Linked DNA regions of Homo sapiens: all the other regions are linked to region 1. Evidence: promoter capture Hi-C in 16 types of primary human blood cells and fetal thymus (Javierre and others, 2016). All regions are on one chromosome and are shown on one strand. Each heading gives the region's core, a stretch centred on a gene start or on the middle of the fragment in contact. The rest is flanking DNA. Distances are from core to core; before and after follow the strand shown.

What was found. The method cuts DNA at HindIII sites, captures the fragments that hold promoters and counts their contacts. A CHiCAGO score of 5 or more calls a contact.
Region 2: a fragment that was not itself captured here is called in contact with the fragment with the promoter of TBC1D23 in region 1 in 1 of 17 cell types (megakaryocytes); the score reaches 10.7 in megakaryocytes.
Region 3: a fragment that was not itself captured here is called in contact with the fragment with the promoter of TBC1D23 in region 1 in 2 of 17 cell types (M1 macrophages and megakaryocytes); the score reaches 6.0 in M1 macrophages.
Region 4: a contact is called between a fragment that was not itself captured here and the fragment with the promoter of TBC1D23 in region 1, in 1 of 17 cell types (megakaryocytes). The highest score is 6.0, in megakaryocytes.

Annotation. Positions count from the first base shown.
Region 1 is chr3:100,256,556-100,264,413 of GRCh38, forward strand. It overlaps TBC1D23 (TBC1 domain family member 23), which reads left to right and starts at 4,437. Exons shown (of 19, transcript NM_001199198.3): 1 at 4,437-4,516. The coding sequence starts at 4,464. RefSeq lists enhancers at 3,841-4,509, 4,245-4,734, 4,510-5,178, 6,516-7,184. The HindIII fragment of the contact is 5,201 bases long and covers 555-5,755 here.
Region 2 is chr3:99,950,637-99,958,494 of GRCh38, forward strand. The region is part of intron 1 of CMSS1 (cms1 ribosomal small subunit homolog); the gene reads left to right. All of the region lies in intron 1 of FILIP1L (filamin A interacting protein 1 like), which reads right to left. All of the region lies in intron 1 of LOC105374010 (a long non-coding RNA gene), which reads left to right. Among named protein-coding and RNA genes, the nearest start is that of MIR3921, 9.8 kb to the right of the region's middle. The HindIII fragment of the contact is 4,266 bases long and covers 1,247-5,512 here.
Region 3 is chr3:99,967,669-99,975,526 of GRCh38, forward strand. All of the region lies in intron 1 of CMSS1 (cms1 ribosomal small subunit homolog), which reads left to right. All of the region lies in intron 1 of FILIP1L (filamin A interacting protein 1 like), which reads right to left. The region is part of intron 1 of LOC105374010 (a long non-coding RNA gene); the gene reads left to right. Among named protein-coding and RNA genes, the nearest start is that of MIR3921, 7.2 kb to the left of the region's middle. The HindIII fragment of the contact is 6,142 bases long and covers 1-5,848 here.
Region 4 is chr3:99,984,005-99,991,862 of GRCh38, forward strand. The region is part of intron 1 of CMSS1 (cms1 ribosomal small subunit homolog); the gene reads left to right. The region is part of intron 1 of FILIP1L (filamin A interacting protein 1 like); the gene reads right to left. The region is part of intron 1 of LOC105374010 (a long non-coding RNA gene); the gene reads left to right. Among named protein-coding and RNA genes, the nearest start is that of MIR3921, 24 kb to the left of the region's middle. The HindIII fragment of the contact is 2,595 bases long and covers 2,292-4,886 here.

The DNA of each region.
Region 1 (7,858 bases), core at 3,187-5,686:
GGCAAATGGAGATAAATTATACATCAAGAATAGCACTGCCATTGTCTGAAGGATACTATTTTCAGATTGTGTCTGTATGTGTGTGCGTGTCCTTAGAGCCGTTAGTTCATGAAACAGCAGGAAGTTCAGTTTTAAAAACTAAGGCTAGTTCCAGCTAACATATTGTTTACTATCCCTATTTCCAACCAGGAATTACTCAACCCCAATAAAAGCCTTTTGCCTGGAACATTTGGGAACAAAATTGGAATGAGCAAAGGGTTAAACAGACTCCCACATTAAAGCACAAACATCTCAAACCTAAGAATGGGTCAATCCCTATCCAAATGTTTATTTTGGGTCCATCTATAAAACCTATTTAGAGTCAACTTCAATTAGAGAAGATGACTACTAGAAGGATAATGCAGAAACAGAGTTTCCAGCTTTTTTTTTTTTTATCAGTTTGCTCAACATTTTAAAATGAATTAAAAGCAGATGTTGAAATTGCTGCCAACTGTTCACTTGTCATCTGTGAATGGGAATTAACTGGGTTTTGTTCATCATTCAATCAAATGTTAAGCTTCAGTAGTTTAAAGAGCCTGGGAATGCAGGTCCTGATGGGATTTTAAAACGACAAACAACTGAAGTAATTTTGATAAGTGTGAAACCATTTGTCCTTGTAAGATAAAAAGGGAAATTCTTGGGAAAGTTTAGAATTCTGAAACTCTCACACAATAGCTGCAGAAACAAAAATCAATATTTTGTTATTTAACAAGAACTCTTAAGCACTATCTATATGTTCTGCCCTGCATTTGGTGCACTGGAGGCTACAGGGGAACTTAAAAATAGTTGTCATTCTCAGAGTTAAAGAATATAAGATGCTGTAGTGCCCAGATGAGAGTGCCTGTTGATGGTCCTAAACTAGGTCAGAGGCGACAGAATGTAAGAAGGGCTGAGATGATATGAGCAGGAATCTCAGGGGAAAGTTTCACTGAACAATGAAGAATGTGTAGGATTTAATATTACTTCATGTGGCAGCCAGCCTCTGAGATGGCCCCCAGTGATTCTTGTCTTTGGGTATTCAAGTCTTTGTTGTGGTTCCTTCCCACATTGAATAAGGCTTACCAATAAGATATTGCAGAATTTACGACTTCTGAGGGTAGGTAATAAAAAAAATGTTGTAGCTTCAATCTTGGTCTCTGTTGAACTCTTACTCTGCGGGAAGCCAGCCACTATGTCAAGAGGATGTTCAAGCAGCCCATGGAGAGGCTCATTTGGGGAGTATCTGAGGCCTCCTGCTAACAGTCAACACCAACTCATCAGGCATGTGAGTGAGCCACCACGGAACTGGATCCTCCAGCCCCACTGAAGCCTTTAGATGACTGCATGACTGCAACCCTGGCCAACATCTTGCCTCTGACCTCAAGAGACCCTAAGCCAGAACATCTAGCTAAGCTGCTTCTAGATTCCTGATGCACAGAAATTATGAGTTAAGTGTTTATTGCTTTAAGACATTGAGTTTTGGGGTAATTTGTTGTGCAGCAGTAGATTAAAACATCTTACTAGGTCTTTGTCTTTATCTAAGAATGCACGAAAGTCAAGAAAAGGCTGCACGAATATGGAATAAATGATCAAGAGCTATGTTATTTCTCCATCTCTTTTTAACAAATGCTAAAATAATATTACAATGAAAACTGAATTAAATTCTACTCACATAACAACTATGACTATGCAGATGAGTTCATAATCCTTACCTGTCCCTGAACCCAACCAGCCATTTCTATATAGGTGAATAGCTTAATCCATTACAAAAGTACTACAAAAAATTCCCTAGTTCATTTTACAAATATTTATGGAGATTCTACTATGTGTCATAGGCATGGTACAAATTAAGTACATGTAATACAGTATAAATTACATAATTATATGGCTCAGAACACCAAATAATAAATGAAAAATCTTTTTATGTTCTCTATAATTTAATTTAAAACTAAGACATTTTAATTTTCTTGTTATAAGAAATACGCTTTGATTTTATCCAAGGATAATATGAAATAATACACCTTCCCATTTGGATGTGGGAACTACAATTAGATGCACAAATGCAAGCAGGGGACGCACTCCAAGATTTCATAATGAAATCTTCTCTAGTTCTTGAAAAGCATTTTTGTTTTGTTTTAAGCAGAGGTCCATTATTAGAATTTAACAAATTCTACTTGAGGGAGTGAGGCCCTGTCTCAGAAAAATAAAAATAAAATAATAATAAAGAAAAATGGTTTGGCCAACATGGCAAAACCCCGTCTCTACTAAAAATACAAAAATCAGCCGGCCGTGGTGGCACACGCCTGTGGTCCTGGCTACTTGGGAGGCTGAGACGGGAGAATCACTTGAACTTAGGAAGCAGAGGTTGCAGTGAACTGAGATCATGCCACTGTACTCCAGCCTGGGTGAGAGTGAGATTCTGTCTCAAAAAAAAAAAAAAAAAAAAAAAATCCGCTAGAAGACACTATCGCTAAACAATTTTGGTTGAAATCTTGTCCCCAATGGGTTATACATCACTAAGATATTGACCCTATCTAGAACTGGCTCCCTAATTTGTGAGGCCTAGTGCAAAATTAAAACCAGTGGCTCCTTGTTCCCAAATTATTAAGAATTTCAAGATGGCAACACCAGAGCATGAAATCAAGCACAGAGTTCTTCTAAGCATGTGGTCTCATGCTATTGCATAGACTACATGCCCATGAAGCTGGCTCTGGCTCCATTAAAGAACATAGAAGTCAGAACTTTCCACTTTATTTTGACAGAATAAAGAACTGTTTAAAAATGTCAAGTGACATATTTTTAATGGGAAAATATTTTACCAGAGACTATAAAGCAGTTGCTGATTTAATTATACTCAAAATGAATCATAATTGAGGACTAGAATCTTCTTAACCAGTGAGCAACTGCTTCTCATGTCAATGACTGAATAGGTTTTAAAACCATTTTCTGAAAAGTTTCTGAAAATCTACTGGCAACAATTGAAGGGACCCAGGGGAGGTCCTGAATATTAGAATGGTAATGTGACCTAGATTCACGTCTTTTATTCTTTTTGATAGAGGGCATCTACAGTCTCATTCTATGTTAAAAGAAATGTTCCCTAACAGAGAACTGAACATTACAGAGATCCGGGCCTTGGAAGTGGGTGCAGTACCATGCAGATCTGTATTATTTCCCTTTAGGGAAGAGAGTGAACATGTTTTTGGTTGTAAATGAGATAGCTGTACTGTTTTGTATCTATTTAAAACAAATAGTTTTTGAAACTATGAAACATTTTAGATACCTAAGTATAGACTCTATAAAGAACACTGGCCACCTATGTGGCCACCTTGGGGCCCTTAATAAATATTTAAAAATTCATGGAAACTCCTCCCTTTCCCTGAATGTAACTGCCATTCCGAGTTTTCTATATATCATTCTCCTGCATTTTAAACTCATATGGATCTATTTTAAATATATTGTCTTTTAAACACCAACTATAAATGATACCATACTTTACCTATCCGTCTGCAATCTGTTTTGCTCATTTAACAGCGTATTTTTCAGATGTATCCATATTGTTACATGCAGTTCTACTTCATCACTGTTGTTTTCAGGGCTTGCAAAAGCGTTTCTTTAGGTCCATCCTCCTGAGCGTGTGCTCACCCCAAGGCCCCGGCGGTGGCCAAGTGTCCGCCCATGCGGTGTAAAGGGGAAGTGGAACGCGTAGAGAAGGATTTTGGCAGCTCTGCTTGCCTGGAATTCCAGTCCTAGAATTCTAAATTCGGACTTGATCTTCCAGACTGTTAGGAAGATATATTTAAGGTAGGAGGCTAGAACGTATCTCCTTTAGTATATAGCTTCATTTACAACTTTTAAATATTCAGTCAAAAAGTATGTGGGCCTTCATTTACACTTTTGACGGGGCCTCACAAATAGGGGTGGTCTGCCCCTTTCCTTACGTCCCACTCTTTCTTCAAATTAAATTGCTACAGCAGGAAATTACTGAACTGTGGCTCTTCTCCTACGTCCGCCTTCCCTATGTCAATTCCCATTTCCCTTGCTTTCTCCAATAGTTAGGACTGTAAATTCTAACTTTGTTAATTTCGACGCCAAGCTGGAATGAAGACGCTAAGTGGACGCTAAAAAGACACGCTGTTTGTCACACAAGGCCTCCAACTGGGACGGCGTCCACCGCGCCCCGCCCCGCCCGCGGCACCGTGGCATCTTGGGACATGTAGTCTTTGGAGGGGCAGCTGCCTCCACCAAGTCTCCTCCCCCAAGACGCTGCCTTTCGGCCTCGGGACGCCGTGACGTTGCGTTCCTCCAGTCCCTTGCCACCTCCCTCTTTCTTCCCCTCTGGGGAAGCTCAGTGCTGGACTTCCGAAGACCTTTTACGACATTGAGTCTCGGAGTTGGTCTCAGCGCCGGATCCACTTTTCGGCAAAGTGACGTGGACGTCAACAGCAATGGCGGAAGGAGAAGATGTGCCGCCGCTGCCAACGTCGAGCGGCGACGGCTGGTGAGTGAAAGCCGGGGCTAATTTCCAATGCCCCTTTATTCTTCCTTCTCACCATCTTGCCGGTCCCCGAGGAGCCGTCTGGCGTCGGCATGGAACGGAGAGGCCGGTCCTAGGCGAAGTCCGGTGCCCTGCCCTACCCCTCTGCCAGCTGGGTGCCCCCTGCCTGCCTGGTTCTGCCCAAGGGACTGGGGCGGGACTCCCAAGGAGAGGGGTGTCATCCAGGTGCTGGGCCTCAGAACGGTCCTCCTGTGTCGTCTGTCAGTCTCCAAAGTGTGCTGGAGTGGGTGGCTTCAGGGCTGGGTTTGGCCGGAGTCCTGGCTGTGGGAGTTGGAGTAGGCTGAAGAAGGAAGTTTGTTGGATGCAGATCTGAGTCACTAAAATACAATGTGAAGAAAAGACGTTTTGAAATGACCACTGCGACCTTCGCCTGAGGGTTCAGAGGTTGACCCGAGGAGAATCCCTCCCACTTAGTTGGTATACTTTTTTTTATTCTGGCTGTTATCTCGTTTTGCATTCCAACAGTTTTCATCGTTCGTCTCCTTCACGCAAGTCATCTTTTCCCCTACTACCACATTTCTCACAGCTCGATTTCTGAGCTTTGGATGCAGTGTGGGACTTTGCTCTTACTGCACCCAAGCTGTTGCATGCTTACCTGATTTATACTCGGGATTGTGGGGGAAGACCGCCAATAATTTTTTGGTAAACTGCTCACCCAGTGTTAATCTTTGGGAAAGGCTTCTACTTTTGAAATAGTTGATCTCACGATACACTGTTAGGTTGTACAACATCATTTTTTAAAAAGGGACCTTTAGAGGCTTGTCTAAATTTTACAGTTGATCTAAGTGTATTGACCACATGTATTAGTTTTGGATTTGCTTGTTCGTTATATTGTATGTGTACAGCTCATGGGCACTTTAAAAATAATACAGGACATTGATAGACATCGACTTTAATCCCAGAGGAAAAAAATGGAAATCGTTGAAAGGGATAGATAATTAGTAATTAAGAAATTCAGCTCTCCATTAGCAGACATCAAACATTACCGTAGCGCTGGGCTCTCCAAGGTGTCAGAGGAAAACTTCATGGTGATCTAGATATAGTTTTTTTTTCTTCAACTTGCTTATGTTGGAGTTGGGAAGGTGTAACAAGGTAAAATTAATCTTATTCTTTGTGAGTGTGATTCAAAGTGTTACGAGAGGTTGGCGGTGGGGGCTGGGGCAGTTGGAGTCACTGGGGGAAAGCTTCATGAAAGCAGCAGTGTTTCAACTAGGCTTTGAAGAATAAGTAGGATTTAAGCCCCAGGGCTGTCTAATAGAAGCCACATATTGTAATTTAAAATTATGTAGTAGCAGCATTTAAAACTGAAAAGAAGGCTGGGCGCGGTGGCTCACGCCTGTAATCCCAGCACTTTGGGAGGCCGAGGCGGGCGGATCACTTGAAGTCAGGAGTTCCAGACCAGCCTGACCAACATGGTGAAACCCCGTCTCTACTAAGAATATAAAAATTAGCCGGGCGTGGTGGCGCGTGCCTGTAATCTCAGCTGCTTGGGAGGCTGAGGCAGGAGAATCGCTTGAACCCGGGAGGCAGAGGTTGCAGTGAGCCGAGATCGAGCCACTACTGTCCAGCCCGGCGGCAGTGTGAGGCTCGGTCTCAAAAAAAAAAAAAAAAAAAAAACACTAAAAAGAAACAGGTGAAATCAGTTTTAATAATCTATTTAACATATTTCAACATGTAATCATTGTTTAAAAAATTAGATAATTGTACATCTTTTTTGTGCCAAGTCTTCAAAATCCAATGTGCATTTTACAGCTACCTTATATTTCAATTTGGTCTAGCCACATTTCAGATATTAAATATCCACACATGGCTTGGAGCTAACATATTAGTGCAGAATCAGATTAAGAGATGGGAAAGGCCTCTGAATGGAGTAACTTTCATGCGCGTCCGTGTGAAGAGACCACCAAACAGACTTTGTGTGAGCAATAAAGCTTTTAATCACCTGGGTGCAGGCGGGCTGAGTCCGAAAAGAGAGTCAGCGAAGGGAGATAAGGGCGGGGCCGTTTTATAGGATTTGGGTAGATAAAGGAAAATTACAGTCGAAGGGGAGTTGTTCTCTGGCGGGCAGAGTGGGTGTCCCAAGGTGCTCAGTGGGGGAGCTTTTTGAGCCAGGATGAGCCAGGAAAAGGACTTTCACAAGGTAATGTCATCAGTTAAGGCAAGGACCGGCCATTTACACTTCTTTTCTGGTAGAATGTCATCAGTTAAGGCGGGGCAGGGCATATTCACTTCTTTTGTGATTCTTCAGTTACTTCAGGCCATCTGGGCGTATACGTGCAAGTCACAGGGGATGCGATGGCTTGGCTTGGGCTCAGAGGCCTGACAGTAACAGCATAAGCAAGGGCATAGACAAGACAACTAATTTGTTTTGAGAGTAAGAATGAGAACTACCTGGTTGGAGAGAAGTTGCAGAAAAATACGTCTTTTTGCTTCTGGTATCCTGCAAGAATGGCAAGAGAAAAAAGAAAAATAGATCTGGAAAAATAGTAAAAAAGTTTTTAACTAATTAAATGCACCTTTTAAGAATCAGTGACAGACATTACAACACTTTTCAGAAAGTGACCTAGCTGGTTATAGCCTGAAGTTTGCTGTTTTGGAACGGTGAATTGTGTCATAAACTGGCGGTAACCAGCTCATAGAGTGCCATGAGGGGAAATGTTTCCACAGTTAAGGTGCCTCTGGGGAGTTCTTAGGTTAGAGGGATTGTGAGAATCTCTGGTTCACATGGGCAGAGGACATGGAGTGAATGTTTACTAGAGACAGCATTTTTTCTCTTGTAGGATTGATGTATCTTTGGTGTGTCTTTGTATTTTTGCTGGTTTCATTTTCATGAATGGAGGAACCCTAACATGGTCGGTGATTTCTGTTTTCCCTCCATCCTCTTCTAATCTTTCTCCTTTTTATCCTGGCACTCTCATCAGCCCCCCAGAAGAGGATTTGAATAGGAAGACTTTGGGATTGGGAGCCAGAGGTTCAGTAAAGGCTCTGTTCTTAGAGTGCTTGGTGAATGGGTTATAGAATGGGGATGCTTTACTCTTGTTTTGTTTTGTTTTGTTGAAGAAACGAGGTCTCGCCATGTTGCCCAGGCTGGCCTCATACTCCTGAGTAGCTGGGGACTACAGGTGTGCCCCATCCATCCGGGTGTTCTACTCTGTCTTTCTCTCCCCTCCCCCTCCCTCCCTCTCTTTCTTTATCTCTCTTTCTTTTTGGAGTAAATGTTTTTATTTTAACTCTGTCAGATGGAATTTTTTCTAAAATGTATCATATATCTTACTGCCTAGCTCA
Region 2 (7,858 bases), core at 2,130-4,629, 310 kb before region 1:
TCACCATTTCCAATATTCGCCTCCCCAGACAGAAAGAGGAATGGAGGCAGCCCACGATTCTCTTTACACGTTTCATATATTCAGAAAAAGCTGTGTGTTAAATTCTTTGTTATGTTTTCCTTTTGCTTTGTGCTCATTGAATATGGTGCTGGAGACTTAGGTAAATATTCAAAACAGAGCTATGTATTTGGCCCAAGATTAAAAGGAGAGTAAAAATAAAGAGAGAGAGAGAGAAAGAAAGAGAGAAAAACTGATCACGGAGACAGTAGTAGCTGGAGGGAGGGGAAGGCTGTCACCCAGGGATTATTGGGTTTGACTCTGCCCTTGGAATAACTCAAAACTTGTTAAGAGGGATCCAAGCCCTGCTTGGTTTGGCCCACAGTTTCACCTCATGCCCCTCCCTTTGTCACTCTTTCTGCACCTAACGTGCTGGCCTTGAGTTAAGTCACTTACACTTAACTATTTTCTCTCTCACTCATAGGCCTTTGCCTGTGCTGTGCTCACTGCTTGGGCCTCTTCCCTCAGCTGTTCACTCAGCTAACTCCCACTTAGCCTTCAGCCCTCAGCTGATACTTCCTGGAGAAGTCCTCCCTGACTTCATAACCACATTATACACTCTAGTAGCACTAAGACCTCCTTCTTCTACCAGTAATTACAGTAGCTATTTTACTTACATCTATATTATTATCTAAAGAATTTCAACCTCCCCCACTGAACCCTTAGTCCTGTGGGTACAGGACGTGGTCTGTTTGCTCACGGATACCTTGCGCATAGTATGTACTCTGTCGAATGAATGAATGATTGAATGAATGAGGTTGTCTTGAAAGTCATCAAATGATGAGATTTTGTTTTAGTCCAGTCTCCCTGGTAAAAATCGCTTGGACTTGACCTAGTAGAGCTCATGTATTTGCAACTCTGTGAGATAGTAGACTAAGAAAGATGAGAAATAGTGATGAAGCAAGTGTTTTTGTACCATCATTGCTGCCTGACCACCTCCCCCACCACATATACACAGTCCCCACTATGTTGGGCTTGGCCACCTTATGTCTCTTCCCTAATGACATCCAGTGACTAATTGACCCAATAGGTACCCTTAGATCATGGGTCAGCAAACTCTTTCAGTAAGGAGCCAAACAGTAAATATTTTAGGTTTTGCAGTTTCTGCCACAACTACTCAAACTCTATCTTTCCAGAAAGCAGCTATGGAATGATATACATGTGAATGGCTGTGGCTATGTTCCAATAAAGCTTTATTTACAAAACAGCCATATTTTGCTGACCCTTGCCTTAGATGAGGTTCTGAAGTAATAGTGAGAGAACCTATAAGTAAGTCAATCTGCAAGAATACCTGCCCCCACACCCTTAGTTGAAATTTATTTTAAAAATTACTGTTTATTCCAGTGGACCATATGTAACTGCACATGTGACCTAGGGCCAACTCTGAAGCTGTTAAAGAGAATATATAGATTTGGCACAGGCATCACCAGAGGTTGTTAAGAGTCGCACAGACCACAGTCTCCTATAGATGTGTTTTTTTTTTTCGTTGACTTAATAAGGGGAATAAGGGTCAATTTCTATTTGAGATCTGATATAGTCTCTGATCACAAAATTTGTCTCCTAAATCAAATTAGGGCAGTTTCAATTGGATTATTTTGGCTTAAGCTAGACATCTAAGGTATTTTCATAATGAGCAAATTATCACTATACAATTCAAACATTTTCCTCAGCTGTTCTTCTGCCAGTCATTATGTCTGTTCAAGTTGAGGAAACAGAATAATTTTCTGGCTGATCCTACCCCAGCCCCAAAAATTCCAACTCTGAGAACCAGTGTAAAGAATTCAGGATCTGTGTGGAGTTCATTCATGGTTGGCTTAGTCATTGTGGAATAGAAGCCACAAGGAATGGATCATTTACATTCTCAGTTTATTAAACTTCTGGTGCTAGAAAACACTATGCTTTGGTTCTTATAGGCATAGATACACGGCTTTTAAACACATACACACAGAGAGAAAGAGAGCACTGTTCAAGAAGCATGAATTTCCTCTTTCTACCCTATATTTTTAAATAATATCTATAGTTTACTAGCTTTGAGTGAAGAAGGGAAAAAACAGAAACAGTTATTATTAAATTGCTCATGAATATTCCTAAGAAGAAACACAAGAAAACGTGTCTTACAGATTTTATTTGAATTAGTTAAGGATAATTTCAATCTTTATATGTTGGATTGTTTTTCTGCATAATGAAAAAAAGAATGCTATAGAGGTATACCCCCAAAATGGGCAATGGATTGTAGATAGTTTTGGAAATAACCCAGAATATAGCCTCTCATTGATTTGGTTTTTGTCACTGAACTGAGTGGTCTCTGAAGGTGGATTTTCTCATGACTGTTCCTTTTCTCTATCAAGTGCCAGAACTTTTTTAAAAATTGTCATCTTGATAAAAATATATTTTAAAGTAATTCATACTTAGCTGCATACTTAAAGGTCAATGCTATGTATATAAACAGCATATGAAGTATTAAATAATATTATCTTTTTGTATTTCATTTTCTACTTCCTCTGTGTTGTCAACAATCATTTATTTATATTGGTTAAGTTATTGGTTAAGCTATAACCAATCGTTTCTTTGTTCCTCTGACCTGCTTCTACCTTCTACCCTATGTCTAGTTTTTGCTTCTAGACATAGGGCAAACCAATGAAATTCTAAGGAAGTAGAATTTCTTAGACTGAGAAATCAGATAACCAATGAAATTCTAAGGAAGTGAAGTAGTGCAGAGGTTCTGAGGGTGCAGTTTGAGGTACAGATGCCTTTATGTCACTTTGTCTGGACTGGAGTTGTATAATTATTATGTCCTAGGAAGGTGGCAGTTGATCTGTCTCTATTTCATGCCACGTTGGACCATTTTACCTTTGAATGGGGTCCTAAATCCTTGCATTTTTAAAGAATTCAATAAAATCCAACCAGTCTTTTCTAAGATGACTTTGTGAGGGCTGTTCCTATTGTCTTGCTAATAGGAAGATGCTATAAATATATTTGAAACACTGATTACTTGTCATTTCTACTGGAATGTGCTTTTCATAGATAATGAAACCACAGTGATGGCCTTTCCTAGAAACTCAGTCTATACTGACAGAGAACTGCCCAAACAGTCCACATAGGCAATTAGCTAGCTTATTCAGTTGTGCCCTTTCATGAGGAATCCTGTCTTCCTTGATCCACAAATAGTCTGCCCATGCTGGAGGCAGAAGGCACCAAGGCATACCTCCCACACTGACCTGCTCTGTGGTTGACCAGTGCCTCTCTTCCCACATTGTAAGTCTCTTAAAGCTCCCCTGCAGTCTTCTTAGAAGTTGCATTCCTTATTTTTGTTGCACCCTTAAGAGAGTTACCTTGTTGTACATGTGACCCTCAAGGAGGAGAAGGTGGTGGCATCTCAGTTTGTAGCAGCCTTAGGCTAAGCAAGCTGTATGAGGGCTCATCTCACTTAACACTTCAGTAACTGTGAGGTACAAATATTGGTCTTCATATTTCACAGGTGACAAACTTGAAGATCAGGAAGCTGAAGTCCATGCCCAACATCACATAGCTAAGAAATAGTAGAGCTGGGCTTTGAGCCCAGGTCATCTAATTCCACAGCCCAGGTTCTCTCTGATACCCCATCCTGCTGCCAAGAGGGAGTATAATATTCATGCTAGACACACTTTGGGCCAGTATCTCACATAATAATCCAGCCACACTGTGAGATAGGTATCATAATGGCTCCCAGTTTAACACAAACAAGGGACATTAGGAAACTTGATGACAGTCACTCATCAGTTAATGGCAAAACCAGAAAAAGAACTCAACCTCTGTTTGACTCTCAGTTTCTCTAAGCCTCAATTTCCTCATTATAAAATAAGAATAACTGGGCTGGGCACAGTGGCTCACACCTGTAATCCCAGCACTTTGGGAGGTGGAGGCAGGTGGATTACTTAAGGTCAGGAGTTCGAGACCAGCCTGACCAACATGGTGAAACCCCGTCTCTACTAAAAATACAAAAATTAGCCAAGCATGGTGGTGCCCACCTGTAATCCCAGCTACTCAGGAGGCTGAGGCAGGAGAATCGCTTGAACCCGGGAGGTGGAGATTGCAGTGAGCTGAGATCACACCACTGCACTCCAGCCTGAGCCACAGAGCAAGACTCTGTCTCAAAAAAAAAGAAAAAAAAAAGTCACAACAGACTGTTAGGATTATTGTTAGGGTAAAATGAAATAATTGAAGTGCTAAGCACCACGTCTGGCATAAAATAAGCCCACAATAAATGTTAGCAAAGGCAAAATCACTTTGAATAGAAAAATCCTGCCATTCTCCTCTCATCTGTTTTGCCTCTTACAAAGATTCCATTATATAATGGTAAATGAAAGGGTATCTTCTCTCACTTAAAACAGAAAATTAGATCAAGTGCTGGGTAATTTGTCTTTCATCACCTAAGTGATTACACAAGTGGTTTCAAGGCCCCTTTCAATTCTATGGCTGTATCATTCTAGCAATGGGGTGCTGTTTTTTCTATTAAGAACCTGCAGGTCAGAACTCAAGTCTTCTCTGTAGTAATAAAGTGGCATGCTCACACAGAGGATGGAACAGAGCTATTAGCAAAACTTAGTAAAGACTTTGATTTTCAGAGTTGTAAATGACAAGGAGTATAAACAGAGACCTACGGAATATTTGTTTCTCATGGAAAGATACCTACAACATTTTTAAAAGATGAAAACAAAGGCTAGATAATTGATTTTTTTAGCGAAGGCATTTAAGAAAATATTTGCTTTGTGCTTGGCTCTGGGGGATAATAGAAGTAATTATTAAACCGGAATTTAGTGGCCCAAGTTGAATCAGGAAGCCAGTTCCTCAGAACAGTTCCCAGCAATGCTTGAGAACTCTAACAAGATATACAGCCAAAGCCAGACACTTTTTTACTTGTGAAAGACTGTGAAAAAAATTAATCATATTTTCCTGGAGCTCCGTTAGTCTTGCCTATCAAACTCTTTGATGATAATGAAATAACTTCCTGGAGCATTGATGATGAAGATCCTTCAGTGCCAATGTATTTAATTGCTTGATTTTACATAGAGTATGGTCATGTACCTTCCTTCCACATTAGTGTATCCTGGAAGGAAATAAGATGGAATTTCGAATGGCCTGTTCTCCATTTTCACAGATTACAGATATTCCCCCTCCAGGAAACTACATCCCATCCCACCCTTGAATTAAACGCATCTTCTCTGTTCTCCCATATAACCTATGTAGACTTCTTACATAGCGCTTACCACATTGTTATGACGTATTTACTTGCCTAACTCCCGGACTTGACCTTGGAGTCCTTGGCTAGGTTGTAAGGTGCCTGCCACTTCAGAGTTATTCAGTAAGTGTTCATTGACTGACACGTTTTTAAGTTTCCAGCTTCAAATGGGTCCTGTCAATAATAGATTTATTCATTCCTTATTGCCTCTGTCTCATTGCTAAGCCATGATTCCAAAGCTTTAACACTCTTTTCATGCCCTTTCTTCCACTTATTCCTTAACCACTCTCACCCTTCACAAACACCTTCACCTTCCTCACCTTTCTTCTTTGTTGCTTTCCTTCCTCTGCCCCCAACACCTCTTCACATCTTTACACATGTTCTCCTTTTCCTGTCTTTGGAAGTATTGCTCTTGGTTTCCGATTCTGTCCCCTCCATCTAAGCTTTGTTTGTTTTTGTGAGATGGACTTTTGCTCTGTCACCTAGGCTGGAGTGCCCTGGCATGATCTTGGCTCACTGCAAACTACGCCTCCTAGGTTCAAGTGATTCTTGTGTCTCAGCCTCCCTAGTAGCTGGGATTACAGGCACCCACTACCACACTCGGCTAATGATGAGATTATAGATGGGGTTTCACCACGTTGGCCAGGCTAGTCTCGAATTCCTGACCTCAGATGATCCACCTGCCTCGGCCTTCCAAAGTGCTGGGATTAAAGGCGTGAGCCCCCGCGCCCAGCCACCTCCATGTAAGCTTTGGATCATAAGCATCGCCTCTTAAATCTTGCCCATCAAATACCCCCTTCCCTTCTGTAGCTGTAGTTTCTTTCTCACTATTGGTTCTTTTTCCACAACTTTATAACACGCCCAGTGGTCCCACTTTCTAATAAAATCTCCCTTTCCCTGCTCCCCACTCTGCCAGTTTCTCTTCCATCTTCACATTGCCTGAATTCATTGTACTCATCTCCTAATTTCCCACCCCCGACTTACAGTCCAGCTTCTGCCCTCACCAATGGCTTCCTAATTTCCAAATCCAGGAACCTCTTCTTAAAGAGGTCTTCCTACCTATTTCTGTCCAGGGCTCTAGCTGGATTTAATAATGCTGTCTTTTTCCCAGCTGCCCAAGCTAGAAATCTTGATGCTATTTTGTACCTCCTCTTAACCCTGCTTAACATACTGTAAGAATAAAAATACTTGTGTTTATGTTTGTACATTTATTTTTTATTTGATATACAGCAAAAAAAATACTGTATGAAGTAGAGGAGTGACAAAACATTCATCAGGGTGATCTGATTTGGCAGTGAAAGGGCCAAGCCGGTGATAAAGCATGGAAAGTAGTAACAGCAGCGAATGAACCACATGCATTGTATGCATAGCAGCTATTCTTAAGAATTCTGATTTCCACATATTCTAAGCATTAACAGAAAGTATTTAGTTGAAGAAAGCCAACCCAACCAAGACTTGAAGCCAGAATGTTGTTTTTTTCACAAATAGTTGTGATATTTTTGAAATGCTAACACAAAATTATGTATCTACACATATGTGTGTATATATATATAGAGAGAGAGACATGAAAGATCCTCATTAGGTTTCTGTGTGGTAATATCATCAGACATCTTTTAAGGAACAAAACAGTGCTCTTAATCACTTCTTTAATACCGTAAACAGTTGGAATTTTCACCCTCTGGGGCCTCCTATGAACCTCTGCAGAGTAGTTCAGCCGTCAGACTGGAAATTAAGCTAATCAGTAGTTACTTGGCACTTCTCCTTTTCTCTTTTCTTTCTTTCTTTTTTTTTTTTTTTTTTTTTTTTTTTTGGTGTGTGTGTTTGTTTGGAACTTGTTTAATGAAAACACAGGTTCCATTCAGTGATATAAAGCAGCACATCACAAAGCTTTTTCACACATAGCTTGTTTTTAGTTCTTAGGCCTGGATATTTGTATGTTCTTAATATAGGCCTAATAACAGCTGAAATGTCATTTTTTAGATTCAACAAAACCTGTGTTTGGAACCTGTTTAATGAAAACACAGGTTTCTTTCAGTGATATGAAACAGCACATCACAAAGCATTTTCCAAGATAGCCTCTTTTTAGTTATTAGGGCTGGATATTCATATGTTTATATAAAGGCTCAATGGGCTCAGAAATGTCACTTCTTTTTTTTTTTCAATTTAAATTAATTTAATTTTAATTTCCAGGATACATGTGCAGGATGTGCAGGTTTGTTACATAGGTGAATCTGTGCCGTGGTGGTTTGCTGCAGCTATCAACCCATCACCTAGGTATTAAGCCCTGCATGCATTATTATTATTATTATTATTATTATTATTATTATTATTATTATTATTTGAAGGTAACATGGAGGTTTAGTTTGAATTTAAGAGAACAGTAACAGAAAGGGAAAATAACCAGCCACCCAGGGTCTATTTTTAACTGCCACGGCTTGAGCAGAGCCATGAAGAGAGAGAACTAGGGCCTGTTAATGCCAGCCATGAAAAAGCTGCTACAGTGGGCAGTGTGTGACTGAGCCCAGCAGGAAAGTGCTTACATAGCACTCAGGCCCACCTTTCAAGGACCATGCAAAGAAAGGA
Region 3 (7,858 bases), core at 1,528-4,027, 290 kb before region 1:
CTTGGTAGTAGCTGAAAGACACCTGAGAAATCTTAGCTCAGAGCTACAGAATGACACTAATGGATCCCAGAAATAGAAATGTAGATGTGGAGTGTTTTATCTGTTTATTTCACCTCAATTCAACCAATACTCCTTGAGTGCCTTTTATATACATGATTTTGAGTGATGTGGAGAATGAAAGAGACACAACATGCTCAGGAAAGTTAACCTGGTATTAGCAAGGAGAAGGAGTAGGATTTACAAATAGATAAGTGCAACGGTATGTGGGAGTGTCAGAAAAGCATCACAGTACTTCAGCACATCTACTTGGGCAATCTCAAACATGTATTACTCATGTACCAAGCAGTATGCTGTTCACAGAGAGATACAATCTCTGCCTTAGGGATCCTTGGGGAAAACATGTACAAAGAGATAGTTTTAGCACATTCTAGTAAAGGCAGTGATCAAGGGCACCTAGCCTTACGTGGCAATTTAGGGAAGGTACCTTGGAGGATGAGACTTCTCCTAAAGTCTTAAGAATTGAAAAGAACATGGGAAGGGAATTCCAGGCTGGGAGAGTAGTATGTTCATACGCCCTCAGTGTTTAACCTTCTTTGAACAAAAAAATGGCAAACTACAGAAAGTTTGGTCTTATTGTAGCCTAAATTGTACTTAGGGGTACGAGTGAGAAACAGGGATTAAGATAAAGGACCTGTTTTGCTGTCTTGTTTACTGTTGAATAGTAGTATGAAGTAGGTCCTGAAAAACTATGTTTTTGGGGGAAAAAAAAAAAAAAGACTGAATGATATGTTGGGTTTAAGTCCTTGCAGGCAGGCTATCCAGGTAAATAAACATGGAAGGTGATGGGAGGTAATCTGGGCTGGAAATACAGATTTGGAAGTCACCCCATATCAGTGGTGTTTAAAATCAAGAGCAAATGAAATTGCACAAGGAGAATATATAGAATGAACAAATTACCATGGGTGAAGCCTTGAGTAATACAGACATTTAAGAAGCAAACAAAAGACAAGGAACCCATGAGGGAGACTGGAAAGGAAAAAACAGAGAAATAAGAAAAAATGAGAGGAGAGAATTGATACATTTTCCTCAGGTGTGGCATTATGGAGTTCACTGGTGTCTCATCAGAGAAGTTTCAGTCCAGTGGCCAGGGCAGAATGACATTGTGTCTTGTTTTAAAGTAAATGGGTAGGGTAAGAAAGTTGAGAAGGGTTAGCACAAACCTCTCTTTCAAGTCACTTGCCTTAGAAGAGAAGGAAGGGTATGGTTTCTGGGGTGCAACCCAGGTTCAAGAAGCAAAAAGAAAAAAAAATTCATTTGATAAAAGATTTAAATGGGTTTCTGGGCTTAGAGGAAAGAGTAAATAGGCACTGAGAATTTAAAGATTTAGGAAGTAAAGGGGATAATTAATGGAGCTCGGTCCTGGGAGTGCTGAAAAGGGGGGCCATGTGTGGAGGGCAGGGCAGGATCTTGACCTGGAGTAAGAATACCTCATCCTGTCATTGAAAGAAAGTGCACAAGGACAGGTCCAGGCATATCTAAGAAGGGGAGGGGAACAATATTGGGATAATGTATGTATAATTCTCTTATTGAAGTAGAAAATGATGTCATCTGCAGAGAAGGATGTAGCCTTGTTTGGGCTCTTGAGCAATATGACAGTTTGGTAACATTGCTTAGTAAAATAAGAGCAAGCTAAGCAAGAATGAGTAGGAGGTTGAGCCACGTTGATGGCCTATTTGAGATTGAGGACTGCAGATTTATATAGTTGCGTCAATCTGAAAGCTGACTTTTTTTTCCAGCTGAGCTCAACAGATTGGTCACAGAAATACAGAAGTCTACGTTTGAATTGATTCTAAAGATATTAGTGAAAGAATGGTTGAAGTAATGAGCCGTGCTATCCCAACTGGGTAAAGCAGTGAGGCCAGGAAAGAGGTCAAGGAACTATGGTTTTCCAGAGATTGGAGAGCAGAGGTAGTAAGGGCAAAGGCACGGGGAGCCTGGAAGGATCAGAGATTGTGGTCATCTTCACATAATGGATAGGAAGCAGCCCCACTAGATAATTAGTTGCAGGGTTTGACCTTGGAAATCTGTGACCATGGAGATGAAGAAGGTGAGGAATTTATAGTTTATTGGATGGCTTGTCTAGATGGATACTGAAGTCACTCATTGTCACAAAGGGTATGTTAAAGATTGTTGCCAAGTGCCCTAGTCATGAATAAGTGTTATGGAGGGACCAGGATATTAGCAGGGGGACATCAATGAGAAAAGATAATTGGATAATATGAAATTCAACAAATGAGGCTGTTACATCAGAGGCATTAGGGAGTAATGGTTTAGAAGCATTATAAAAAGGAATAATCAGTTAGGCATTGGCTTAAAATTTGGATAAGCCATATAAACTTGTTGATATTTGAGTATTTTGACATATAAAAATAGTAATTTCATATGGTTCAACCTCATACTTTGCGTGCATTAAATCATTCATTCTCACAACTACCTTCTGAAATGGGTTATCATTTTGCAGCTGAGAAAGTGAAGGCATAGAAATAATAAGTAATTTGCCCAAAGTCATCTGATAAGTTTTGGAGCTCAGTTTCAGACCCAGGCAGTCTGGCTTTAGAGGCTGCAATCACTCTGAATAGGGAATGCCCACCTTACCCTCACTGCCCTTCAGGCCTTCTGGTGTGTGAGGTGGATGAGACCAAACTCCTCTTAAGCATGTAATAACTGAGATAAATGCTGTAAAGGAAATGAATGTGGTTCACTAGTCAGTTTTGAAGTCTCATTCTCACATACTCTGTGCTTCCCCACCCTATTTGTGTTCGCTTTCACTCCCAAACTACTTCTACCTAATTGCAGAACACTTTCTCTACATTTTGCCTAACTGAAACCTAGCATATCCCTGCTTTCCTTGTAGTTTACTAGTAGATAAGTAGGAAAATAGTTCTAGACCTTGCATGTACAGGGTCACAAGAGTTTAAAAAGAGCAAGGAAAACCATTCAGTAAATGACAAGACATTCTGTATATGGGATATGAACTGGGCTGGGAGAGAGGTAGAGTACTTAAGAGAGCGTGCTACGATAGACCTCAAAGGACTTTTTACCATTCTAAAGACCTTAAACATTATACTATCTGCTACAGCCAGCCACAGAAAGATTTTAAGAAGCAAAATGTTGTGAGGATATTATAGATAAATGTTGGTGTGGATGCAATTAAAGGGAAAAAGACTAGAGGTGGGAAGATGGGTTAGGAAGCTGTTGCAGTCATTCATGTGAAGGAATAGGGCTTGGCAGTGCTCCTACCTGTGTGATTGAAGAGGAGGGGCTGTATTCACAAGATATTTAACAGCAAGGATTGGCAGGTTTTGGTGTCTCTTAAGAGAATATGGGGGCTGGGCGTGGTGGCTCACGCCTGTAATCCCAGCACTTTGGGAGGCCAAGGCGGGCGGATCACTAGGTCAGGAGATCGAGACCATCCTGGCTAACATGGTGAAACCCCGTCTCTACTAAAAATACAAAAAATAATTAGCCGGGCCTGGTGGCAGATGCCTGTAGTCCCAGCTACTCGGGAGGCTGAGGCAGGAGAATGGCGTGAACCCGGGGCGCGGAGCTTGCAGTGAGCCAAGATCGTGCCACTGCCCACCAGCCTGGGTGACAGAGCCCATCTCAAAAAAAAAAAAAAAAGAGAATATGGGATGCTGGAACCCATAAGTGAGATCACCACACAAGGAAAGAAGTCCATTTGAAAGGAGAGATGAGGAGTCCTCTTTTCTACATGTTGAATATGAGATGTCTGTAGAATCTGGGTAGAAATACTGGTATGGGACTCAGGAATGAGGTCTCACAGGAGATGCAGATGAAAATATGTTAGTATTGCTTAACCTCTCTAAGCCTCACTTCCAAAATTCCCACTTCCTCCATCAGCTTTTGTCTTGTAGCCACTCCCTGATCTAAGTTGGTACCAGAGTATAGGGACAGAGACCTGAGTGAACTGTGGCTTTAGACCTGCTTTCATCAGGACCTCACACTGTGGACTCACAGGAGTCTGTATGGTAGGGTCTAGGATACACACGGAACCTCAAACTTCTGAAAGGAGTCCTCTCCCTGCAACACCATTCCCATAAAAGAGAACAGAGTCGGTTCCTAGCTTGAATGAATGAATGAATAATGACGTTGGGGCCTCTGGATATAGATCATTCTAAAAAGCACCTATATACTCTTTTGGTAGGATTTGGTACAGGTAGGATTATGTAAACCTGGTTGCTGACCTAGATATATGTAGTCTTGTTGGGAAACATGGATTAGTCATAAAATTAGCACACTGACATGGAGTATAGTCAGCAAATGGATAAGATGGTTAAGTATCTATAATATAGTTTGACTAAGCAGTTAAGTGAATCAGTACGAATATTATTGAGAGGAACCTGGTTCTGACAGATATAAGGTAGTGATATTGCAGACATATAAAAATATAGACTGATATGCAAAGTGTGGGGAAAGATGTCATTCAAACCAGTCTTTTTATGGGCTTAATAAATTTGATAAGGGAATAGGAAGAAAGCTAGTCATCTCTTTCCCTTAGGTTGAAATAAACTTGACCCAATAGAGTACCCTAGTTTTGTTCATTTGCCGAATTGACTTAGATGCCAGGGATTTGCATGTGGAAAACTAATGCCATGGCAGGATTACTAGACTGTAAATTCATTAAGAAGTCTGATGATATCATAAACCGTGAGAAGCCTCTGTCTTGCAGCAGCATCGGAAACGTCCCCGTCCCCATTTGAGTAAGTGCTGGTAATCCATTTTATTTCTCTCCATTAGTTATTATAATAATAACAGATTGGTGACACGGCCTCATTTTCTGCCTCTAGTGCTGTCTGCTGCTGGGCACAGCTGCTCCCAGTCATTCTTTCCAGAGTAAATAACGGTTCATGTTTCCATGGGCTGTCGCGAGAGCTTTCTGTGCTTATGAAATGAGCCCATGTCACCACCCTGTTGGGAAAGATTGAAGGCATGGGCAAAGCCAAGGAACTGCATGGGAAAGCCAGAGCTTTACCCCTACCCTAAGATATGTTTTTTGCTCTTGAAGACATTTAGATTAACTGGGTGTTAATGATGTTAACTTCCATAAGTGTGAGGCAAGAAAATTCCATCACTTGGCATCTGTCTGATGCAGGCCTTTGGCTTTGGAACTTTTTCTTTCATGTTAGATGTAAATAATGAACTCCTTTGTTGTGAGAGGGTTTGTTACAAGGAAGTAAACACATCAGCAAAGAGCATCTTTTGATCTTCACACCTTTGGCAATAAAAGCTGAGAGCAGAAATAGGCCAGAGAATTTGGGACAGAAACCACTAAAAGCTCCCCTTTTATCTGTTCACAAAATTAGGTGCAGAACTATAGGAACAATGGATGGAATGACAATTATTAAAAAAGATGAAGGGCAAAATGAGGCCACCTGAATAATAAAAGCCAAGGTTTAGATTTTATGATCTGCTTTAAAACTCAGTGAATTCTCTGAAAAACTAGGAGCATTATATAGAAACATCATAAACAAAATGAATAAAAATTTTTTTTCTCTTCTTGTGATCTCATTAGTGGATGTTAACAAATTTTAAATATTCATTTGAGAATACATGTTATAAGAACACTGATTTTCTGTGTGTGTATGCAAAATTGCAAAAACTGGTATGTTTTAATGCCTTAATTATGTGACTCTTGTCTCATGATCATTAATTCAATCCTCTTCTAAACATCAAACCACATATTCATATAAAATAGAAATCTAAAATATGCAGTTATAAATACATATGAAAATTCCTCTGTCTTTTTTTTCCTTATTTTGAAAGTTTAAGCTTTATTGCCAGGTTTTATTGGTAGAAAACTAATGTTGCTTTATTTCATGAAAGTTATCAACATCCTCCCTTCAGATCTTATAGAATTTATACTCACATCCTATAGGTAAGTAAATAGATTGAGGAGGAAAACCACTTCTGTAAGAAGAATAATAAACACACTTCAAACTTGATGAAAAATAAATGGATCTGCACTCAAAAACCTATTTAAGCTCACTTTTTTCCCCCAGTTTGGGTAGCTTTATAATGAAGGCAGAGATTGGGATGCAGGTATCATGTTAGATGTTAAATACCTCTATTCCTAGGCCTGGTGTTTGTTGTTGGTGGTGGGTGGAGGGATGGTTGCTCTAAGTTTTAGGTGTTCTTGATAGACAATATATAATTGATAAATAACTTTTCAAAGATCTTGCATTGTTTTCTGTTTTATCCCACTGTTTCCTGTAACCCACAGTTCCAAATAGCTGGCTGAATTGCTGTGTGATAAAAGGAAATCTGAGACTAAGTACCAATTCCTTCCAAGTTTAAGAACAAGAAGGTTTTCTGAATATTTTTCAGAGGCAGACTGGGGAACTATGTTTCTTTTTAATGGTCTTTTAATTTGAAAGTTAAACTAAATCCTTCTAATTGCTTGTAGGTATTGGACAATATGAGTATTTCCATTGGATAACATGGAGAGGACAATTTATCATTGAAGGACTTGTCGTTTTTATCTTAGCTGAATAGGGTGCCAGTATATACAGTTCGTGCTTTCAAGCACGGGTTGATTTATTATGGTTTGGACCTGCAGTTTTTAGAAGGGATCACAACAGGATTTTTCTTTGTAAGTTTAGTAAAGCCCATTTCTTACCTTGTTGACTGTCACTATCAGGTCAAAAAACTTAGAAAGCAGGAATAAAAACTCATTATTTGGGCTGGGCGCAGTGGCTCACGCCTGTAATCACAGCACTTTGGGAGGCCGAGGCAGGTGGATCACCTGAGGTCAGGAGTTCAAGACCAGCCTGACCAACATGGAGAAACCCCGTCTCTACTAAAAATACAAAATTAGCCGGGTGGTGGTGTGTGCCTGTAATCCCAGCTACTCGGGAGGCTGAGGCAGGAGAATCACTTGAACCCAGGAGGCGGAGGTTGTGATGAGCCAAGGTCATGCCATTGCACTCCAGCCTGAGTAACAAGAGCGAAACTCCATCTCAAAACAACAACAACAACAACAACAACAAAAACTCATGTTTGGAGTGGAAAAAACCTGTTGTTTGATGACATGTAGTTAAAATTCATTTACTTATATTCAAATAAAGATAATAATTTAGTCCTTAGGAGATGAACATTTCCATATTCTCTTTCCTACCCCTTGGCATGGGCTCTTGTGTTTGCCATACCAGGTGGATTCAGTCCAAACTCTGTAAACCTGGGCGTGTTATTTGATCTTTTTGAATGTGCAAAGCTAGAAAATAATACCATTTTCACAAGTTCATTAAGACACATTTATGACAAAAGATCAACAGTCATTAATTACAGTTAATAACTCTGAGTGACTGCTAATGTTCCAGGAACTATACTGAGCATCTTAGATTATCTAGATTAAGCCCAGTGAAGTACCTTTCACCTAGCAGGCATTCAACTTCCACCTGCTTCTGTTCCTCCCCGCTCCAATCTACCAGATTCCTCAGGTGAAAGGAATTTCTATTTGTTCACATATTACTTCATCCTTCATTCATGCATCCATTCAACAAATACATACTAAACTCCTTCTAGTTCGAGGAACTGTTGTAAGTGCTGTGGATATAGCAATGACCAGGAGAGACACAGTTCCAATGGTCAAATGTTCTAGTGCAGGAGACTGACAACAGACAGGCAGTGAATTCAAGGAGTTCAAGACCAGCTTGACCAACATGGTGAAACTCTGTCTCTGCTAAAAATACAAAAATTAGCTGAGTATGGTGGCGGGCGCCTGTAATCCCAGCTACTCGGGAGGCTGAGGCAGGAGAATTGCTTGAACCCGGGAGGCAGA
Region 4 (7,858 bases), core at 2,339-4,838, 270 kb before region 1:
CCTAACTTCTGTGATATGTTAATTAGCATGAAAAAGGATGTATATGTATGTGTGTTTGTGTGTGTGTGTGTGTTCAGCTACAAAGGTAAAAGAATATCAGGTGCTCAGGTATGAAATAATTGATCCATAGTTCTGGAAGTCCATCACAAATTGGCTTAAGCAGAATTTTTAAAAAGTGAAATTGGAATGTGATTGTTTGAGAGCCAAAACTGCATTCTTTGAGTATAATTTTACTAGTAGCCATTCATGTATTTATTATGTAGAGTGTCCTGTCAAACAAAATGAAAGGCTATATTTTGTCTTCTCCACATGTAATCTAGAGCCAAGAATGAAAACCACATAATATATTTTTAGGATTAAACCATTTATTACTGATAGATAATGACAGAGCAGAAACAGGAGGCACCAGTTAGTCTGCATTAGCTCATGAGCCTGGATAACTTTTTTGTGAACTCTAAAGATTTGTGAAATTCTATCATTTGCATTAACTTTCTGATAAATTTCTGATGTGGTCAGTGGTCCTCTAGCCCCTGGTCACTGAAACTCATTCTGCACACTGCCAAGAGGTATCTACCCTTAGAAGATCTTTGCCCAAAATTTCCCCCTTCAAGTGCTTTTTAGAAAGAATGAGCACCTTTGCCAAATCTACCAAGCCTCCTCTCTGGCCAATTACTTTGGCTACTGTGGGGGAGGGAATCCTAGCATGTAGGAAGATGTGTAGTAAGAATAGAAAGATCTATGTTTTACTCAGAATTCTGCCTGGTTGAGAAGGTAAGATAAGTATATGATAAAATCAAGGATCATATTCAGCTAATGTTTATTGAGTACATTCTTTGTTGCCAAACATCAGCCCCAAAGCACAGTATATAGATATTAACAAACACAGGATTAGGTTAATAAGGAACTTGGACAACTGGAATTCCCAGGTTAAATAAACTGAGGATATTGCTCTTAGAAGAAAAGATTTAGTGGAAATGAGATAACTCGTGTTAAAAATAAATACTTAAAGGGGTTGCCGTGAGGAAGGTATAAGGGGCAGGGTACCAGGTATATATGGTTAGAAGTTGCATATTCTGCTTATCCTTTTTTAATTTAAAACACAGACTACTAGAAATAAAGTTCAAAAGTTAATTGGAGTAAAGAGAAGATTGAACAAAAAATCATCCTAGGGGGTCAAAGGTTGTTTTAAAAGGTTGAGAAAACTGCAATTGGTTCTCTAAAATTAGTCTCAAGAAAGTGATCTAGGGCCCATCATGGTGGCTCACGCCTGTAATTCCAACACTTTGGTAGGCTGAGGTGGGCAGATTGCATGAGCCCAGGAGTTCAAGACCAGCCCGAACAACATGGCGAAACCTCATCTCTACAACAAATAGAAAAATTAGCTGGGCATGGTGGTGCACGCCTGTGGTACTGGGGAGGTTGAGGTGGGAGGATAGCTTGAGCCAAGATCATACCACTATACTTCAGCCTGGGTGACAGCAAGACCCTGTCTCAAAAAAACAAGGTGAGCTTGCCAATTCATACTTTTAAAATTAAAGTCTGATATTTCTCTTCAATCTTGTGAATTTCTTTTATAATCATGAGAAAAGCTTTTTTTTTTTTGAGATAGAGTCTCGCTCTGTTGCCCAGGCTGGAGTGCAATGGCATGATCTCGGCTCACTGCAACCTCCGTCTCCTGGGTTCAAGCAATTCTCCTGCCTCAGCCTCCTGAGTAAATGGGATTACAGGCACCTGCTACCATGCCCAGCTGGTTTTTGTATTTTTACTAGAGATGGGGTTTCCCCATGTTGGTCAGGCTGGTCTCGAACTCCTGACCTCAGGTGATCCACCCACCTCGGCCTCCCAAAGTACTGGGATTACAGGCGTGAGCCACCGCACCGGGCCTGAGAAAAGCTTTTTAAAGTTCTGTTGGATATATTCATAAAACACATTGGGGGTTAAAGTCAGTATGACCACAGAACACATTTGTACCACAATACTTTGATACTAATAGGACTTAATGAGATACAGTTTGCACGTGGACCCAAGTCAACAGCAAGAAGTTTATTCACAGATAAATTAATGTCTATAAGATATTAAAATTTATTTCACTTGTGTTTTCATTGTTATAAGAGGAAAAAAGATAGAAAATCTAAATTGTTTTTATTTTAATAAGAACCAGATATCTCAAATATGTTCAAATTATAAGATGTAAAGATAGCTTACATCAATAGAATGGTTGGTAGATGTTGCTCATGCATCAATCTGTAAATTGAATGGGATATGTCCCAGGAACAGGTGTTTTTTCATGAAGCTTGTGGCATTAGATATGCCCTCCACTCCATTGCCATAAAGACATATCATTGTAAAATAAAGAGAATAGTATGTGTGCTTCAGGGGGTTTTGCATATTTTTTAAATAAAGAAAAAGTATATCACTGGCATACATTATTTTTAACAACACAGTTTTAGACATACTAGTGACGGTTAGTTTTTCTGAAAGTTGATAGTGAAAGAAATAGACGAGAACAGGAGTTACAGGGCTTATATGAGGTTGGTAGGTATATTTTTATTTTTTTAATGGGGAGAATTAAGATACTTGTTTGTCAAAGAGAATTACCAACTGCACATGGAGAGAAGAAATTGAAGAAATTGATGAAGATTAAATGAAGTGGTGATGGGTGTGGGCCTAAGAACTCAAGTAGAAGGAGGAGAATGGTTCTTCCTCTAGTCTAGTGGCCCTAAGCGGGGGATTCTTTTGCCCCACCCCCAGGGGATGGTAGGAAGTATTATGGCATCTAGTGAGTAGAAGCCAGGGTTTCTGCTAAATGTCTGCAGTACAGAGGACAACCCTCCACAGCAAAGAGTTATTCAGACCAAAATGTCTATAGTGCCAAGGTGGAGAAACCCTGATCTAGTTAGGAGGACAAGAACATATTAGGAGAGTATACAAAGAAATATTTAGGCCAGGCACAGTGGCTCATGCCTATAATCCTAGCCCTTTGGGAGGCTGAGGTAGGAGGACTGCTTGAGCCCAGGAGTTCGAGACCAGCCTGGGCAACATAGTGACACCCCATCACTACAAAAAAATACAAAAATTAGCCAACCGTGGTGGCATGCACCTGTAGTTCCACCTACTCAGGAGGCTGAGGCAGGAGGATCACTTAAGCCCAGGAGGTTGAGGCTTCAGTGAGCCAAGGCCATGCCATGCACTCCAGCCTGGGGGACAGAGTAAGACCCTGTCTCTTAAGGGGAAAAAAAAAAGGCCAGGCACAGTGGCTCACTCCTGTAATCCCAGCATTTTGGGAGGCTGAAGTGGGTGGATCATTTGAGGTCAGGAGTTCAAGACCAGCTTGGGCAAGATGGTGAAACCTTGCCTCTACTAAAAATACAAAAATTAACGGGGTGTGGTGGCATACACCTGTTATCTCAGCTACTCGGGAGGCTGAGACAGGAGACTCTCTTGAACCCGGGAGGCAGAGGTTGCAGTGAGCCAAGATTGTGCCACTGCACTCCAGCCTGGGTGACAGAGCGAGATTCTGTCTCAAAAAAAAAAAAAAAAAAGAAAGAAAGAAAAAATATTTAAGTGCAAGAGATTATTTAAACTAAGGGAGTTTGAACCCTCTGGCCTTAATCTTATTAAAATAGAAAGCCACATGTCTGACAAGACTAACAATTCTGTTATTAACATGACCCAAAGTCAGAATTAGTTTAGCACAGTCCCAAGACCTCAGTTATTTTCTTCACAGGTGCATGTAATGAAACTTTTTTGAAATTCCATTTTAAATTGCATGCATATGTCCAATGAGCAAGTCAGCAAAAAGAAATGTTTTTATTAACTTAAAAAATAACATTCTAGCAGTAAACATTTCATTAACTTGATCTGGCAAACAATAATGCACATAGTTCTAGAACAGAGCTGCCAGTCTCTCATCCTGTTGGATTCTTGAAAGATGTTGAGGATACTGTTCTTCCAGGCCATCATTCTGTTTCTTAAGAATAGCTCTTTTTTCTCTAATCAAATGAAAGTAAAAAAGAAGCTGGTACACCAAAATGTAAGGTTAAGCTGTAATTTCATTGCTTGTCAATACATACTTCTTAAGAATCTTCTTTTTATATTCTTCAGTTTCAATAACTTTTTTTTCTATAAGTGAACAAAAGCTAAAAGAATTGTGGGATCTTTTATCTTTATTTTAATCCAACCATATATTCTTTTTAGAAAGTCTGAAATTTGGCCGGGCGCAGTGCCTCACGCCTGTAATCCCAGCACTTTGGGAGGCCTAGGCAGGCAAATCACGAGGTTGGGAGATGGAGACCATCCTGGTTAGCATGACAAAACCCCACCTCTACTAAAAATCCAAAAAAAAAAAAAAAAAAAAAATTAGCCAGGCATGGTGGCATGTGCCTGTAGTCCCAGCTACTCAGAGGCTGAGACAGGAGAATCGCTTGAATGTGGGAGGCGGAGGTTGCAGTGAGCCGAGATCATGCCACTGCACTCCAGCCTGGGCGACAGAGCGAGACTCCATCTCAAAAAAAAAAAAAAAAAAAGAAAGAAAAGGAAAAAAAAAGAAAGTCTGAAATATATCTTCAATTCTGTAGGTTTCTCTTATAAGAAAAACTTTGTTTTAAAGACCATTTCCAAAGTCCAGTTGTATTTTCTTGGTTTGATTCTGACTGGTAGTTAGATGATGCAAACAAAAAAGAAATTAACCCTTTCTATTTGTTTCCTTTAAACATAAAAAAAGCATTGTCTGGATTGCCTCTATAACTTTTACAGAAACATAGTATAATAACACTTAAACTTCCACCATTGACCCATTGTTCTTGGGCTGTTCTTTCATTGGTAATTTTTATTCCAAATCTGGCAGGTGCCTTCATTCTCCTGGCTTCTGCCTTGGTTTCTATTAAAGCTTCTTTCAGCACTCGGAGTAATTGGGAACTTTCTGTTTTCAAATTTCTGTACGGAATTATCAGAAGTGTAGTGTGACTGTGTCTATACCTTTAGAGCAGGTACATTTTTTATGGACTTCAAAGGAAAAATTAGGAATTATTTTTCTCAACAAATTCTTCCATCTCATAAACTTACTTAGCATTTGTTTTGTGATTCACTCACAGTTCATAGGGTGCTTTCATATACATTATCTTGTTTGGACCTAGCAACAACTGTATGACATGGGTATTATAATTTTCTTGGAGATAAATTAAATGTAAGTTTAGTGAGGCTTATGACTCCAAAGCTCACAAAGCCAACCTCTGTTCTGATTCCTGCTTTATATGCTCTGGTCTGAGTTCTGCTCTGCTTTCTCAGGGGCTCTTGACTGCATGTCTAGGATTCTAGGTACTAAATGTAGAGGTGGGGGTGAGGCAAGAGTGAGGAAACAGGAAAATCCCCCAGACAAGAAGACTATCACTTCCCATTCTAGTATCTAATAACCCAATTACTGTGTCCCCCACATTTTCTGGAGACCCAAAACTACAGCACTCTGGATGTTTTCCTCAGTTGACTCCAACCCTTGACTCCATTTCCTTATTGGAGCTGTGACATTGTTATCTTAGTCCTCCTGTTCCTGCAGTTTCACTGCTCTTGCAAGCTACTCTGACTTTATTTTGAAATATTTTCAGAGAGTGGAAGTATTACATTCAAAGCAATTTTTTCAAAATACTCAATTTAGTATCTTCCTCTATATATATATATATATATATTTTTTTTCTTTTTTTTGCAGAAAAATACCTAAGGAACAAAGTAAGGTAATCCTATTTAGTATGCTAATATGTTATCAACATGTTAATATTAAAAGTTAGATATTGATTTGATAGAAAGGAAAATGGAAATAAATTTTTACTTACTCAGATCAGTTTCATAAAATCTCATTACTGTATGTAGTCAATGTTAAGATTTCAAGTGGATTTTAAAACTGGAGTAGTTATTTCCTTAGTTCCAAGACACCTGGTACGTGCTTAAGAGTGCAAGAGAGAGTTATACCCACCCAAAGCAATAATGCCAGTGGTTTATTTCTGACTATAATATTAAGAAGTATGAGTCTTTAAATCCCATAAAATGACTATTTTTGCAATTCTCTGTTTGCCGCTTTGTGTTTGTTTGAGAAAGAGAAATATATTGAACTTATATTTACCCAGCAGCTATTGTATGCCAGATACTGCCTATGCTCTAGAAATAAAATAATGAACAAAACAGAAAGGCTAGTCCTAACAGAATTCTCACTGGGTGGTAGAGAGGGTAGTCAAGAGAGGAGAGAGAGGCAAAGATAGACAGAAAGAGATAGACATTCTGTTTCTATATCAGGGCTTGAACCAGAAGCCACAGATTGCCAACTGAACCATGGCACCCAGTCATCAGAGAACTTAATATTGATCCGTTCAATCTCTCTATTCACAGCTTACATTGAGAGCCCTATGCCCTTAGGCACTTGCTGAGTGCTGAGGACATAACAAAGTGAACACTAAATGTTCAGCCCCCAGCCCTAATTACACCTTCTCTCAACTTAAAGTCAAACTAACAAATGTGTATTAAATGAATATCTATTATGTGTTCCAGTGGTGGTTTTCAGTCATGGCCACAATTAGAATTACTGGAGAGCCTCTAAATAATACCAATTCTTGTGCTTCACTTAAAACCAATTAAATCAGAATCTTAGAGATGATGTCCTGGCATCAGTATCATTCCAAAGCCTCCTGGTATAATTCTGATATGCAGCCAGAGTTGAAAACCCATTTCCTATCAAGTGCCCACGGGAGGAAAAAAAGAAATATAAGAAAAAAAATTTACCTATATTTGTAATAAAAAAAAATACCTTTCTGGAATTCCATAAAGAAGGTGGAAGAAGCAAACATTTAATTTCCCTTCATATTTTCTCCAACAGATAAATATTTGTTGACTCCCATCTATGCAGAGAGCAAATGAAAAAAGCATAAAGTCTGCCCCTTCCCTCAAGTAGCTTAAACTTTGGTTGGAAATAAAAGTCTCTGCCTTTTGGGAATTAAATAAAAATACAGGTGCTCCAGAAATATCCACAAATGACAAAGATGCCCATAATCTGGTCCATGAGTTCCCGTAAGGACAAATGTCACTGGGGGTCAGTCCTGACATAAGACCAAAAAAATTCTTCCCATCTCCCCCCATAATGGAATATAACAGGAAATATGCCCATTCTCATTCGATTTGCAGTAGAAAATTCCCACTAATTTACAAATAAGCAGCCTATTCTTCTTTAAGGAGAGAATGTTCTCATTAGAAATGTATGACCATTTCAAATGGCTGATCTACCTGTTTGTGAAGTGTGAGGCCTACCTGCAGGGGCACACACCCTTCCAAAAGTTTTAAAACACTCAGTGAATGTCGCTGGTGAGGTTTTAGGAGTAATAATAGTAATTGTTCCAAGGTATATTCCTATTGTTGAAAATATATGAAGTGATTTTATAATTTTTTAATTTAATTGATTTTAAATCTATCTTTTTTATGTTTATATATTTAGGAGGTACAAATGCACATTTCTTACATGCATATATTGCATCATGGTCAAGTCTGGGCTTTTAGTGTACCCATCACCCAAATCACAGACATTGTACCCAATAGGTAATTTTTCAACCCTCACCCCCCTGCCACCTTCCCACCTTTTGTATTCTCCAGTGTCTGTTATTCTACTCTGTATGTCCATGTATATCCATTGTGTAGCTCCCACTTATAGGTGAGAACATGCTGTATTTGACTGTTGCTGCGTTATTTCAGTGAGGATAATGGCCTCCAGTTCCATCTATGTTGCTGCAAAAAGACATGATTTTATTCTTTTTCTAAAGCCAGTAAATAGTATTCCATGGTGTGTGTATATATATATATGTGTGTGTGTGTGTGTGTGTATGTG